Linked DNA regions of Homo sapiens: all the other regions are linked to region 3. The links are contacts of gene promoters, found by promoter capture Hi-C in blood cells and fetal thymus (Javierre and others, 2016). All regions are on one chromosome and are shown on one strand. Each heading gives the region's core, a stretch centred on a gene start or on the middle of the fragment in contact. The rest is flanking DNA. Distances are from core to core; before and after follow the strand shown. Region 1 overlaps TMED7-TICAM2 (TMED7-TICAM2 readthrough). Region 2 overlaps FEM1C (fem-1 homolog C). Region 3 holds the start of PGGT1B (protein geranylgeranyltransferase type I subunit beta). Region 4 has its middle 4.6 kb from the start of FEM1C. Region 5 has its middle 22 kb from the start of FEM1C.

Region 1 (2,700 bases), core at 60-2,559, 320 kb before region 3:
TTCTCCTTTATATTCTTTTATATTTCCTGTAATATTTTACATATTCACCATAGCATATTTGCCATGTTGTTTTTTTCATTCCTCTTCTGTTTAATATAGAGAATTCTACTGGGGTCCTCTTTTGCATAGATATGAAGTGGATAAATTCTGGACTCTCCTTCCTTCTTATCTCAGGCCTATTGATCTTCCCTTCAGAACTTTAGTTTAAGGGTACCATTTGGATTGATTATGTTTCTTCACATTTCTGTTGCCTGAGGGGATGGATATGATTCACTCTGTTGGGCTTTGGTCAACAGTAATTGGTAGTTTTTCTCTTATGTCTTTTCTGGGGCAAGGGATAGAGTTGGGGTGTCATTCTATCAAGTTATAAGTTTTTTTAAAAAAGGCTCAGCCCTACGGAGAGCAATTTGACCAAATGAATCACTGTTACAAATGGAAATCCCATTGGGGGAATTGTTCTATAGATAAACTTGCACACATATGAAATGCTTTTTGTACAGAATTATCCATTGCAGCATAGTTTGTCCTAGTAGTAGACTGGAAACAACTCACATATCCAAGAACAGGGAATGATTATGGGATAGCCACATGCTGCATGATTATGTAGTTGTAAATAAGAAGAAGTTCTCTATGCGCTGTTACGGAAAGCTCTGAAGATATAAAGGGAAAAAGCAATGTATACTAATGTTTATCCACTGCTGTTTGGGATTTATATGTCATGTATACATATGAATAATGATACTTTTTTTGAAAAGGAAAGAATAACAAGAATATTCTTTCAAAATATCCTTGTTTGAATTTTGGGACATTTTTGAAAAAAGGAAAGAAAAATAAGAATATATATTCATAGAGAAACAGTGGAAAGATGCAGGAGAAACTGATAAAAGTGGTCACCAGCAGGAGACCATGGGAATAAGTAACAGGATGGATGGAGACACACCACCACCTTTTTTTAAAAAAAGTAAATGAAAATGTATATACATACACATTTTAATTTTTATGAACAGTGGTCTCACATGCGTCTCCCAAGTGGCACCCTCACTCTCCTTCCATTTAGCTGAAGCAAGGAGGTGAAACCTAAATTTTTTAAGCCTGGTGTTCATTGTTCTGATGGAGGAGGAGAACTTTAAAGGAGGCTTTCCAGGATTCCTTTGGCCAACCTTCCCCAGATTTCCTTCACCACGCCATGCCTTTCCTTTGTTCCAGTAGAGCCCTTTTTACTGATGGAGTTAACTGGCCAACAGTGAAGCACAGTCGTGTCCTCTCACTTCCTCCCAGCCCTGGGAACCACAGTGCACTAAGGAATCCTGACCATCTCTCCATGTCTGAGTCACAGTGGTGGTGGGAACAGCACAACTTTCCACAGCTTGTTCCCTTGGCAGTCTCCTTACTCCCTCCCTCCAGATTAGAAGATGATGGTAAAGTTTTATAGACATTGCCACTAGTTTTTTTCTCTCGGTCTGATTAGGTGGGTGACACTGCTTGGAAGTTGGAACACATCATAGATTTCTGAAGTCTTTTGCTCTTTTTTGCTAACTGGTATTTAAGAAAAATAAGTCGAAGTTGTAATTCTTTGTTTTTATTTTAAAAGATTTTGTGATCTGCCTTGACACACTATCTTACCCTAGAAGTTTTTCATATTCTTTATAAATAGCTGTTATATTCCTTCAAAGCACTTGTCTTACCGGCTAGTGACTAAGATAATGGTGTTGAATTCAGTGATAAGTGTAGATCATTTTAATTGACAGTAAATAGATGCCTCTGGATGGTTTAACTATTGTTTTCTCATTCAGGGGAAACTTCTTTCTGCAACTTTGCATAGCAAAACCCTTTTTTTTTACGATGCAGTAACAAAAGTCAGCAGTGAATCCTAATCAATGAAGAGAGTCCAAATTAATTTGGTTTTATTATTTTGGATGGATATATGTCACATTTTAGAGTTATTATGCCTTAGAATACCTCTTGGTAACTAGCACAATATACCGTGGAGCGAGAACCTAAAGTACAGACAGAGTGAATGACGGAGTGGTCAGCAGTTTCCTCACTAGTCAGAGGCAGCTGCAAACATTTTTACTCACATACATTGAATGAAATTCTCTGTTTTTTTCCTTGGTTTTTGTTCCCATGACAGTTTTCACCACTTTTGTTGAACAGTTTCTTCTAAACCTGAATTATGTAGGCATATGTAGCCATGTTACTTATGTTGTTATGAATGTTATAATTTCTTCTTGAGGTATGGCCTTTGCCCATAAAGAACAAGTAGAAATGCTCTGGAATATAGTCTGTGGCTCACATTTGAAAGTATGAAACCTGTATTTATATATTCTAAATGTTCTGTCTTTTAATAAAAGAATTCCCCTTGAAACTGCCTGTCTGGGGGATTTTATTAGGAATATTGCCAATGTTTTCTGAAGACTTATTTAAATTAGATTCACATGGTATACTTTTCTTTCACAGTTGATCTAGTTCTTCCACTCTGAATTTAGAATTTTTTTAAATAAAAGAATGAGTCTAGGCCAGACGTGGTAGCTCATACCTGTAATCCCAGAGCTTTGAGAGGCTGAGGCGGGAGGATTGCTTGAGCCCAGGAGTTCGAGACCAGCCTGGGCAACATATGAAACCCCATCTCTACCAAAAAAAAAAAAAAACCAAAAAAAAAAAAAATTAGCCAGGTGTGTGGCATGTACCTGTAGTCCCAGC
Region 2 (2,700 bases), core at 6-2,505, 260 kb before region 3:
GCACTTTAAAACATTAATGAAAAATACGAAGAGACCATGGATTAGTTTGAATTTCTTCTGGTGACTTTGGATGTCTTTTTACACCTAATTTGGTCATGTCATTTATTCAATAAGTTTAATATCAGATACTAGTTTTAGGTACTGGGGGAATTTTTTTTTCTCGTTTGTAAACCAAGTATGTCCTACTTAGGAACTTAAAGCTTCCTGCTTTTCTTTAGGTTCTAAAGTGCATATATATATTACATTATATTTTGGTCCCTCAATGTATGTTATTTCTTTTTTTCTCTCTCTCTTTAAGGTAATACTGCATTGCATGATTGTGCAGAATCTGGAAGTTTGGACATCATGAAGATGCTTCTTATGTATTGTGCCAAGATGGAAAAGGATGGTTATGGAATGACTCCCCTTCTCTCAGCAAGTGTGACTGGTCACACAAATATTGTGGATTTTCTGACACACCATGCACAGACCAGCAAGACAGAACGTATTAATGCTCTAGAGCTTCTGGGAGCTACATTTGTAGACAAAAAAAGAGATCTGCTTGGGGCTTTGAAATACTGGAAAAAGGCAATGAACATGAGGTACAGTGATAGGACTAATATTATTAGTAAACCAGTGCCACAGACACTAATAATGGCTTATGATTATGCCAAGGAAGTGAACAGTGCAGAAGAGCTAGAAGGTCTTATTGCTGATCCTGATGAGATGAGAATGCAGGCACTATTAATCAGAGAACGTATTCTTGGTCCTTCTCATCCTGATACCTCTTACTATATTAGATATAGAGGCGCTGTCTATGCAGACTCTGGAAATTTCAAACGATGCATCAACCTATGGAAGTATGCTTTGGATATGCAGCAGAGCAATTTGGATCCTTTAAGCCCAATGACCGCCAGCAGCTTATTATCTTTTGCAGAACTATTCTCCTTTATGCTACAGGATAGGGCTAAAGGCCTGCTGGGTACTACTGTTACATTTGATGATCTTATGGGCATACTTTGCAAAAGCGTCCTTGAAATAGAGCGAGCTATCAAACAAACTCAGTGTCCAGCTGACCCATTACAGTTAAATAAGGCCCTTTCTATTATTTTGCACTTAATTTGCTTGTTAGAGAAAGTTCCTTGTACTCTAGAACAAGACCATTTCAAAAAGCAGACTATATACAGGTTTCTTAAGCTGCATCCAAGGGGAAAGAATAACTTCAGCCCTCTTCATCTGGCTGTGGACAAGAATACTACATGTGTAGGGCGGTACCCTGTTTGTAAATTTCCATCTCTACAAGTTACTGCAATACTGATAGAATGTGGTGCTGATGTGAACGTCAGAGACTCGGATGACAACAGTCCCCTGCATATCGCTGCTCTTAACAACCATCCAGACATCATGAATCTCCTTATTAAATCAGGTGCACATTTTGATGCCACAAACTTGCACAAACAAACTGCTAGTGACTTGCTGGATGAGAAGGAAATAGCTAAAAATTTAATCCAGCCTATAAATCATACCACATTGCAGTGTCTTGCTGCTCGTGTCATAGTGAATCATAGAATATATTATAAAGGGCATATCCCAGAAAAGCTAGAGACTTTTGTTTCCCTTCATAGATGATAACTTGACTGTATTTTAGCACTGTTAAAGCACGAATTGGTAACAGTTGTTTCATAAATGAGCACTGTTGTGATAACACCAGCATTCATTTAGCTTGATTGATATCATTGTGCTCTCATTGGCTAAAGCATTATAAGCATCAAATTTACAACATTGGTTTCCCAATATTTAATATAAATATACCATATAATATATTGTTTGTGAATTATTGAGAAATGTAACATTCAAATTTCTAAAATTGTCTGCCAAAGGCTTATTCATTCTGGTTTTGTTTGCTGTTGGGTGTTTGGGGCAGAGTTAACCATTTCTCCATGGTGTCTTTATACTTTACTGGTTTGTGAATTTTATACAATTGAAAGTCTTTTTTTCTTGCTTCTTTCTTCTCTTCTCAAGTTTCCCCCCTGTTTCTACTTTATTGTTTGTCCTAACCATTTCTACTACAGTTTTTTCCTTATGGACCCATACTAGGTTGTACAAACCTTAAGGACTCGTTACCATTTGCAGTTACCATAAGTGCTTTATCTTCTCTATGCACAGGCTTAAACTTGACTGTTGTATGTTAGCATATTTTCTATGCAGCAGTTGGTCAACTTCAACTCAAAACACTGTTTTCTTATGTTTGTTACAAACTTAATTTTTTGAAAGTACTCTGTAGCATGACAATTTTTAGAGCTGCAGGTTAGCTATTATAGCTCAAGCTTTTTTGTTTGTTTTTTTCTTCACTTTCTTCACATCTGAGGTTTCTTTCTCTAATCCACTGAAATTATTGTGTGCTAAATTTGGGAAACAGATCTATTCTAACTCATTAACCCAGTTGAAATTTAGGTCTGTCATCTTAATATATCATGCAGTAAAAGGAAGAATCTTTTTAAAGTGACCCACCTTTCATGCTGCTCCAGCATTGTCCTGCTTGTGCTGATGGTGTGATTAGGTGTAGAGAATTTGCTTAAATTTAACTTCAAAGTTCATCACACAGCTTAATGAGTCACATTGAAATACTCAGTAATTGAACTGCAAATCACTTTTAGTTACAAAAAGAGCTAAAGCATGTCAGTGGCATGATGCTTGCCAAGCCAGATCTAGGCATCTAGG
Region 3 (2,700 bases), core at 23-2,522:
TCTGAGAATGTATAGAGTGTCCATAGCTGATTCCAGTAAGTTAAATGTGTATAAGACTCCACTTTAAAAATCTTCAGGCATTTGGGGGTATGTGTGCTAAGTGAGAGATCTTAATTTTAATAACAGTGGAAACTCCAGACTGGGCACACCTGAAGGGCAAGGACTGTGAGCTCCGTATTTGTAGGGAAGTACCGAGGACAGCCTAGAATCCGTCTGTGGCTGTTAAATGCGGCATTTTGTAAAGACATGCAGGAATACCTGTGAATAAGTAGTTAATAGTACCAAAAATTATTCAGAGCACTTTGGATTGTTGAATAAGTGTAAGATTACCCCAGCCCATAGAGTATAAGAATTACATTTTCTAAGAAAGCTAACAAAATTAAACCCAAAATTTTATTAGCTAAGTTGATCACAGGGAACCTAGTTTAGTTATATTATTGGGTGGATCCCCCCACCCGCTACTCAGGAATGCCTCATGAAAGTTTAAAGGGCATAGTATACCGGCTAAACAACTTAAATCCCTATTTTTGGAAAAAAGAACTAGAAGCATGTTTAAATTTTTTAGAATGCAGGTAATTGGAGAAGATATTGAGCTTATTTTGCTGTTGCAGATTGATGCACCATTGATTCTTGATAACACGTCGACTCAAGCAAAGTAAAATCTGTAAGATTTGTAAAAGAATGACGCAAGCAGTCATATATAGGTATGAATATGCATGTTGTATATGTTTGGGGGCATTATACACAGATTTTTAAGTGATTCCTGGTATCCAGAAAGGATTAAGATTAGGAAAGTCTCTGAGCTTTTGTAGTGTCAATAAACATTTATCTCCACTGGTTTGTTTTTCTGTTTCCCTAACCGTTCGGCTTAAAACTGGCCCTCCAAAAATGAATCTGTTAGCAAGTTTATACTGATCCATCCTCGTTTTCAGATATACCATCCTCAGGTTCTACAGAGCCAGAATTGTCTCAAAGCGTACTTGATGCTTTTGACCTTGCGCTTCCCAAGATAAAAATTCTGACGGAGGGATTTGTGGACTTGATTTTCACAAGGCCTGCGAGGTGTTTACAAGCCTCGAGGGCTTTGAGTAGAAAAGGTAGGGTCATGCGCTAGCTAGGGAGATATCGGAGAGAGGAAGTGCTGCACAGGACCCAGATGATAGCGGTTTCAAATACTGGCTTAGTCTGCGGCGGGCGCAGGTCCCCTCACCCGGCACCCTGTGGTTCAGCACAGGAGGGTTCTTTCTCTCCGCGGGCACTGATTCCGGGTCGCGGCGGACGTCGCTTCCGGAGCAGCATGGCGGCCACTGAGGATGAGAGGCTAGCAGGGAGCGGTGAGGGAGAGCGGCTGGATTTCTTACGGGATCGGCACGTGCGATTTTTCCAGCGCTGCCTCCAGGTTTTGCCGGAGCGCTATTCTTCACTCGAGACAAGCAGGTAACTCGTGGCACAGTCAGCCAGGCTGGCACAAGGCCCGGGCTCCAGCGGAAAGGCGCGGCGGAGTCGGACCGCAAACTGGGCGCCGGAAGGGGGCTGCGCGGCCGCCCAGTTGGCACTGACTGGTTTCAAGTGGGCTTGAGGTTACCCCCACTCTCCCGCCGTACGGTGGGAAGGTCTGGAAGGCTGTAGGTCGAGGGCTGTGGCATCTCCAGTTTCCGGCTTTTTCACTTCCCTTTTCTTCTGGCAACTCTGAGCTGCTTTTTTACCCGCTCCCATAGCCTGTCACTTTGCCTCATTACTTCCGAGTGTAAAAGGAAAAGGACAAAGTTTGTCGTCGTATTTTTAGATGAATACTTCTGTGCATCCTTGTCCTCTCTAAAGTCATTAACTCTTAATAGAGTGTCTGTATGGTGTTTTATGTGTAGGAGCGGCAGAGAACCTCTAAGGTCTTAGAAACTTTGTGGGAACTATAAATCTAATGGTAGGCGAAAGAGGTGTGGTGTTGCGTGAAGCAGCCTGTTAAAAGTATCGCAATAGCTGAAGAGTGTGGTGCGGCAGAGACTAAGCGACTTCATTTACAGTAAAAGCTGGGGATGAGAAGAAAGAAAGGAGAAGGCAATCTTTGCTCCGCATTGCTGTGTTTTGAAGTGAAGCTCAAAAGCTGCTTGAGACTGGATGGGAGGAAAGAGCGGCTTGTTTTTGCTGTGTTCTTTCCCCACGTTTTCCAAATTCTGAGTTGCTGGTGTATTTTGAACACTGCATGACCGGATCAGTTTGGGGAGCTTTGCAGATTACTTCTGCACACTTGGTCAAGAACCACATTATGGTAGGTGCCAGAGTACAGCTGAACAAGACAAGCATTTGTATAGAGTTCTGTGCTATATGTTAGTGTAGTGTTCATAGGAGTATATAGACAGGCATGTACATAATCCAGATATCTTTAGAGAGGCCTTCCTTAAACACCCTTCCTAAAGGGACCACTTCCAATGACCACCTCACATTACGTATGTATTGGTTTATTTGTTTAATGTCTTTCTATTACACTGGATTATAAACTTCACAAAGGTAACATTTTCGTCTATCTTGTTTACCTCTATACTTAGGACTGGGCTGCCCTGTCCAATCTGGTAGCCACTAGCCACATTTGGCTATTTTGATTTGAATTAATTAAATCAAATTAAAAATTAAGTGATTCTTTTGGTAGTAGCCACCACATTTCAAGTACCCAGTTGCCATATTGGCCAGTGGCAATTGTTTCTA
Region 4 (2,700 bases), core at 21-2,520, 290 kb before region 3:
GAGATTATGTCATATTCATCCAGTATCTAACATAGTACATAATAGGATTCCATAACTTTGTTTTATTGGGGTTTTTTTTGTTGTTGTTTTGTTTTGTTTTTAGACAGGGTCTGGCTCTGTCACTCAGGCTGGAGTGCAGTGGCGCAATCTCAGCTCACTGCAACCTCCGCTTCCCAGACTCAAGCCATCCTCTCACCTCACCCTCCTGAGTAGCTGGGACTACAGGTGTGCATCACCATGCCTGCCTAATTTTTGTATTTTTTGTAGAAATGGAGTTTTGCTATGTTGCCCAGACTGGTCTTGAACTCCTGAGCTCAAGCAGTCTGACAGCCTAGACCTCCCAAAGTGCTGGGATTCCAGGATTCAATAATTTTTAAGGTGGTGAATGAATTTATGACAATTAAAATATCTCACCTTGAGCAAATTATCAGTGTTAATAAAGCGGACTTATATGAGAAAGACATTTCTAAATAGCACAAGAAGCGTACACCTTGCTATGCTATTTTTGTGTAACTTTTAAATTCATGAAAGTAGATTCTTTTCATACTTTTCTAAATAGAACTATGCCCAGTTAGTTACCAAAAACTAGAGATTTAAAAAAAATTCATCCTGGCCATTTCTCAAATTAGAACAAGTTACCAAAGTATACCAAAACCGTGCAAGCAAACTGTTTCACTGAGGTTTCTGGTTTAAATATAGACTGGCAGGAATTAAATGTTTGACAATCCCCAGAAGGAATACTATAGAAGGAATGTTCTACTAATTCAAGGATATTGCACAGACCAAAAAAATCCCAAGGGTAGCCAGGTAAATTTGGGAAACTTGGCGGTATCATTTAACACATACAAAACCAGTAAGAATTTTCAAAAAATATAATATCAAGTGGGTTCAATGTTTGGTGAAGTCAATAGTGCCTTGCTGGTGGTGACAGATTGGTCTAAGTCTTCTAGGAAATAGTATAACAATGTATATGAAAAGCCAAAAAGACATTCTGTAATCCAACTCTTGGAAATTTATCCCAAGGCAATATGTGAGAAGAAGAAAACAACTTATAGGCCTGAAAATGTTCATTGTTCTATAATTAGGGTGTCCCCTTTTTGCTGATCCAATTCCTCCTCCCCATCAGCCTTTCAGGTAAGGGGTAATGTCTCCTCTGGGCTTACATTATAAAGCCTTGGGCCTAGGGAAATGCTCTGGATGCAAGTAACACTTTGCTCCCCCGTCGGGGAAGCCTGAATATTCACCTTGGCTCCCGGAAGTGGTTCCCCTTTTTGTCTGTCATCTCTGGGTACTTACCTGAATGGGTAATTCAGAGGCTGTCTCTGGTCCCTTTCCCCTTTTCCAGTCTTTGGCTCCCCCTACAGACCCCTTAAAAATGAGTCTTCCTGTTATGCCCCAGTAGCATTCTGTGGCTTTCAGGAAGACAGTAATTGCTGATTTAACCAGACATCAAAGTCTTAATAACCAAACCAATCCAAAGCAAACCAACCAAACCAAACAAAAAAGTTGTCCCTCCCATTGATGGAAGGTAGAAAAGAGGTGGGCATTTAGAAACACAATGTAAAATCTATATAAAAGGAAATTTAGTTGATTTTCTATTTAAGAAAAAAAAAATCAAAGATTGGAAGAACAAATGTTCTTTAGAAATGGAAATGACTTCCAATAGGGGGTTGTGAATAAGTCTCCAAACATTTCAATTAAGTCTTCAAACATTTTTACTCATGCACATGAGATGCTATCTACCCTCCTACATATTTTTCAATTGTCACCTAAAATTTTTCATCATAAGTTTAAGTATTCGCAAAGGTTGCAATTTTCCGCAAAATGTAAAAATTAACATTTTTAAATAAAACATGCTTTTAAATGAATCCAACGAAATCTAAATATCATAGCAGTTATGCTTACTATGAACCATTTAAAAAAATATATGAACAAATTATTATTTACCTATAGGATATTTTTACATAATTTATTTTCTCTTCGCATTTATAATTCCATTCCACATCCCATTCCTCAGGAATATATCCTAATTAATGTACTTTTATGTTTGAATATGTTTTTTGTTTTTGTTTTTGAGACAGTATCTCGCTCTGTTACCTAGGCTAGACTGCAGTGGTGCAATCACAGCTCACTGAAGCCTCAACCTCCCAGGCTCAAGTGATCCTCCCACCTCAGCCTCTGGAGTAGCTGGGACTGCAAGCATGTACTTCCATGCTTGGCTAATTTTTAAGTTTTTTGTAGAGACAGGGTCTCACTCTGTTGCCCAGCCTGGTCTTGAACTTCTGGGCTCAAGCAATCCTCCTGCCTGGGCCTCCCAAAATGCTGGGATTACAGGCGTGAGCCACTATGCCTAGCTGAATGTGTTTTATGAATCACTCTATTATATTTCTCTGCAATGAAAATACATATAAAAGCCAGGCACAGTGGCTCATGCCTGTTATCCCAGCATTTTGGGAGACCAAGGTGGGTGGATCACCTGAGGTCAGGAGTTCAAGACCAGCCTGGCCAACATGGCGAAACCCCGTCTCTACTAAAAAATACAAAAATTAACTGGGCGTGGTGGCAGGCACCTGTAATCCCAGCTACTCAGGAGGCTGAGGCAGGGATAATTGCTTGAACCTGGGAGGCAGAGGTTGCAGTGAGCCGTGATCGTGCCATTGCACTCTAGCCTGGGTGACAACAGGGAAAACTCTGTCACAA
Region 5 (2,700 bases), core at 174-2,673, 300 kb before region 3:
TATAAATTTTAATGAATGAAAGTACACCAAGGTTTAAAATGAAAGAAAGAGGTTTATATAATAGTAGCCCTTCATTTTGGAGTTTGGGGAGAATAAAAAAAACTTTTTTTTTTTTTAATATATAGCTGTTGGCCAGGTGTGGTGGCTCACGCCAGTAATCCCAGCACTTTGGGAGGCCGAGGCGGGAGGATCACATGAGGTCGGGAGTTCGAGACCAGCCTGACCAACATGGAGTAACCCTGTCTCTACTAAAAATACAAAATTAGCTGGGCTTGGTGGTGTGTGCCTGTAATCCCAGCTACTTGGGAGGCTGAGGCAGGAGAATCGCTTGAACCCAGGAGGTGGAGGTTGTGGTGAGCCAAGATCATGCCATTGCACTCCAGCCTGGGTGACGAGCGAAACTCCGTCTAAAAAAAAAAAGAAAATACATAGCTGTTTAAATGCTAAGCCTGTCATCGTAGACCTTCCTGTATAATGTATTTGTAATCAAATGTTTTTCTGGAATGTGATGATTCCTCTAATATTGGGAATAGAATTTATAGCTCCCAATTGTTGCGCTATAGTGCTATTCCTACCCTCACCTACAGCTTCATGCAAAATATTTTATTGAGCACATACTATGCATCATTCATTGTACAACAGGCTGAAGATATAAAAATAAATAAGACATCGTCCCTGCCTTCAAGGAGCTATATGAGTGAAAACCAAAATCCAAGTTAGAGTATGGACATAGTAACAAAGTAAATTCCATATACGAGGTGTTATGAAAGATGGGAAAAGAACAACTGGACTCTGAAAGATAACCTAGAAATTTCATCCAGTGGAGTCGGGTAATAATGTTGCTCCTGCTGATAGATGATGATGACAACAGTAATATCAGTGCCAGGACTTTAGATCTACCTATACATTATGAATTTAATCATCACCATATTCCAACGAAATAGATAATACAATAATTTCTTTTTACAAATAAAAAATCAAAGTCATCAATGAAAAGAGGCAGAGTTGAGATGTAAACCTGGGTCCATCTGACTTGGAGTCTAAGTCCTTAAAGAGTTTGGGCATTGGAATTCTACAGAGCTGCATTTGGATTGTAATACCACATGTTCTAGCTGAGTAATTGTTGGTAAATTACATAACCTGTCTAAGATTCAGTTTTCTCCTTTGTAAAATGAGGATAACGGTAGCCCCTGTGCATGATGCTGTTGGCTTCCTACCTAAGAGTTACCCCTCCTGCCCTCCTTACTCCTTGCCAATGGAGCTCACCTCCAATTACTATGGCTGAAAATTCCAGATCCTCATGATCCCAGTTGCTCTTGCAGCTAGGGCCTGAATACAACATGACATAGTCCTGGCCATTGGGGTCCGAAGGGAGAAATCAGCAGGAGAAACATTTCCTCTCTAATAAAAAGAGATGCTAGAAATCTACTTTCATTACATATAGTCGTGTGAAACCTGAGACTACTCTAGCCAACTTGTAATCTAAAATGAAGATGTCACGAACACACTGAGGATAAGATGCAGAAAAATGGTAAGTGAAGGAGTCCTTTTTGACATCACTGAGCCAATAACATCATGGAATTATGTGAAACACTAAATTTATTCAGTATTTAAGCCACTTTTAATTGAACATTCTATTACTCCTAGGTAAACCAAATGTACTGAGTTTTAGATGAGCTAAATTGTGTAAAACACTAAGTACAATACTGGCATATAGTAGCTGCTTAATAATAGAGGCTATTTTAATATTCTTGGTCAAAGTCTTCCAAGCATGGTGTTTATTTTGTAGCTTTTGATCATTACTAGTAAGGCATTGTTGTATTGCAATAAATACCTGAGACTGGGTAATTCATAAAGAAAAGAGGTTTAATTTGCTAATAGTTCTGCAGGTTGTACAAGCATGGCTCCAGCATCTGCCCAGCTTCTGGGGAAGCCTCAAGGAGCTTTTACTCACGGCAGAAGGTAAAGCAGGAGCAGGAGCAGTCAGAAAGGTGCCACTTACTTACCCAGATCTCGTGAATACTCACTAATAATTGCAAGAATAGCACCAAGCTAAAAGGGATCTGCCCCCATGACCCAAATACCTCCCATTTGGCTCCACCTTCAACATTAGGGATTACAATTCAACTCATTACAATTCATTACAACTTCATTACAATTCAAATAAGATTTGACAGGGACATACATTCAAACTATATCATTCCACCCCTGGCCCCCCAAATCACATGTCCTTCTCACATTGCAAAATACAATCATGCCTTCCCAGTAGTCCCCTAAAGACTTAACTCATTCCAGCATTAACTCAAAAGTCCAAAGTCCAAAATCTCATCTGACACAAGGCAAGTTCCTTCTACCTATAAGCCTGCAAAATCAAAACCAAGTTATTTATTTCCAATATACAATGAGAGTACAGGCATTGAGTAAACATCCCCATTCCAAAAGGGAGAAATAGGCCAAAAGAAAGGGGCTTCAGTTTCCATGAAGTCTGAAACCCAGCAAGGCAGACATTAAATCTTAAAGCTCCAAAATAATCTCCTTTGATATCATGTCCCACATACAAGGTACACTGGTGCAAGAAATGGGCTCCCAAGGCCTTGGGCAGCCCCAACGCTGTGGCTTTTCAGGATTCAGAACCTACAGCCGGTCTCACAGGTTGTTCAGTGCCTACTTTTCTGGGTGCAGGGGGTTAGCTGCCAGTGG

Evidence for each region. Contacts are between HindIII fragments. The CHiCAGO score rates a contact against its expected background, and 5 or more counts as called.
Region 1: a fragment that was not itself captured here is called in contact with the fragment with the promoter of PGGT1B in region 3 in 9 of 17 cell types (M2 macrophages, naive B cells, naive CD8 T cells and 6 more); the score reaches 7.0 in M2 macrophages.
Region 2: a fragment that was not itself captured here is called in contact with the fragment with the promoter of PGGT1B in region 3 in 1 of 17 cell types (activated CD4 T cells); the score reaches 5.6 in activated CD4 T cells.
Region 4: a fragment that was not itself captured here is called in contact with the fragment with the promoter of PGGT1B in region 3 in 4 of 17 cell types (non-activated CD4 T cells, monocytes, activated CD4 T cells and 1 more); the score reaches 7.2 in non-activated CD4 T cells.
Region 5: a fragment that was not itself captured here is called in contact with the fragment with the promoter of PGGT1B in region 3 in 1 of 17 cell types (non-activated CD4 T cells); the score reaches 5.9 in non-activated CD4 T cells.

Annotation. Positions count from the first base shown.
Region 1 is chr5:115,582,287-115,584,986 of GRCh38, reverse strand. All of the region lies in intron 3 of TMED7-TICAM2 (TMED7-TICAM2 readthrough), which reads left to right. The region is part of intron 1 of TICAM2 (TIR domain containing adaptor molecule 2); the gene reads left to right. Among named protein-coding and RNA genes, the nearest start is that of TICAM2-AS1, 19 kb to the left of the region's middle. The HindIII fragment of the contact is 7,881 bases long and covers 1-2,700 here.
Region 2 is chr5:115,523,216-115,525,915 of GRCh38, reverse strand. It overlaps FEM1C (fem-1 homolog C), which reads left to right. Exons shown (of 3, transcript NM_020177.3): 3 at 299-2,700. The coding sequence ends at 1,608. Among named protein-coding and RNA genes, the nearest start is that of FEM1C, 20 kb to the left of the region's middle. The HindIII fragment of the contact is 2,106 bases long and covers 203-2,308 here.
Region 3 is chr5:115,261,449-115,264,148 of GRCh38, reverse strand. PGGT1B (protein geranylgeranyltransferase type I subunit beta) reads left to right here and starts at 1,272. Exons shown (of 9, transcript NM_005023.4): 1 at 1,272-1,437. The coding sequence starts at 1,298. RefSeq lists enhancers at 1,154-1,203, 1,234-1,413. The HindIII fragment of the contact is 10,345 bases long and covers 1-2,700 here.
Region 4 is chr5:115,547,984-115,550,683 of GRCh38, reverse strand. No RefSeq gene overlaps it. Among named protein-coding and RNA genes, the nearest start is that of FEM1C, 4.6 kb to the right of the region's middle. The HindIII fragment of the contact is 7,329 bases long and covers 1-2,700 here.
Region 5 is chr5:115,565,857-115,568,556 of GRCh38, reverse strand. No RefSeq gene overlaps it. Among named protein-coding and RNA genes, the nearest start is that of FEM1C, 22 kb to the right of the region's middle. The HindIII fragment of the contact is 3,777 bases long and covers 1-2,700 here.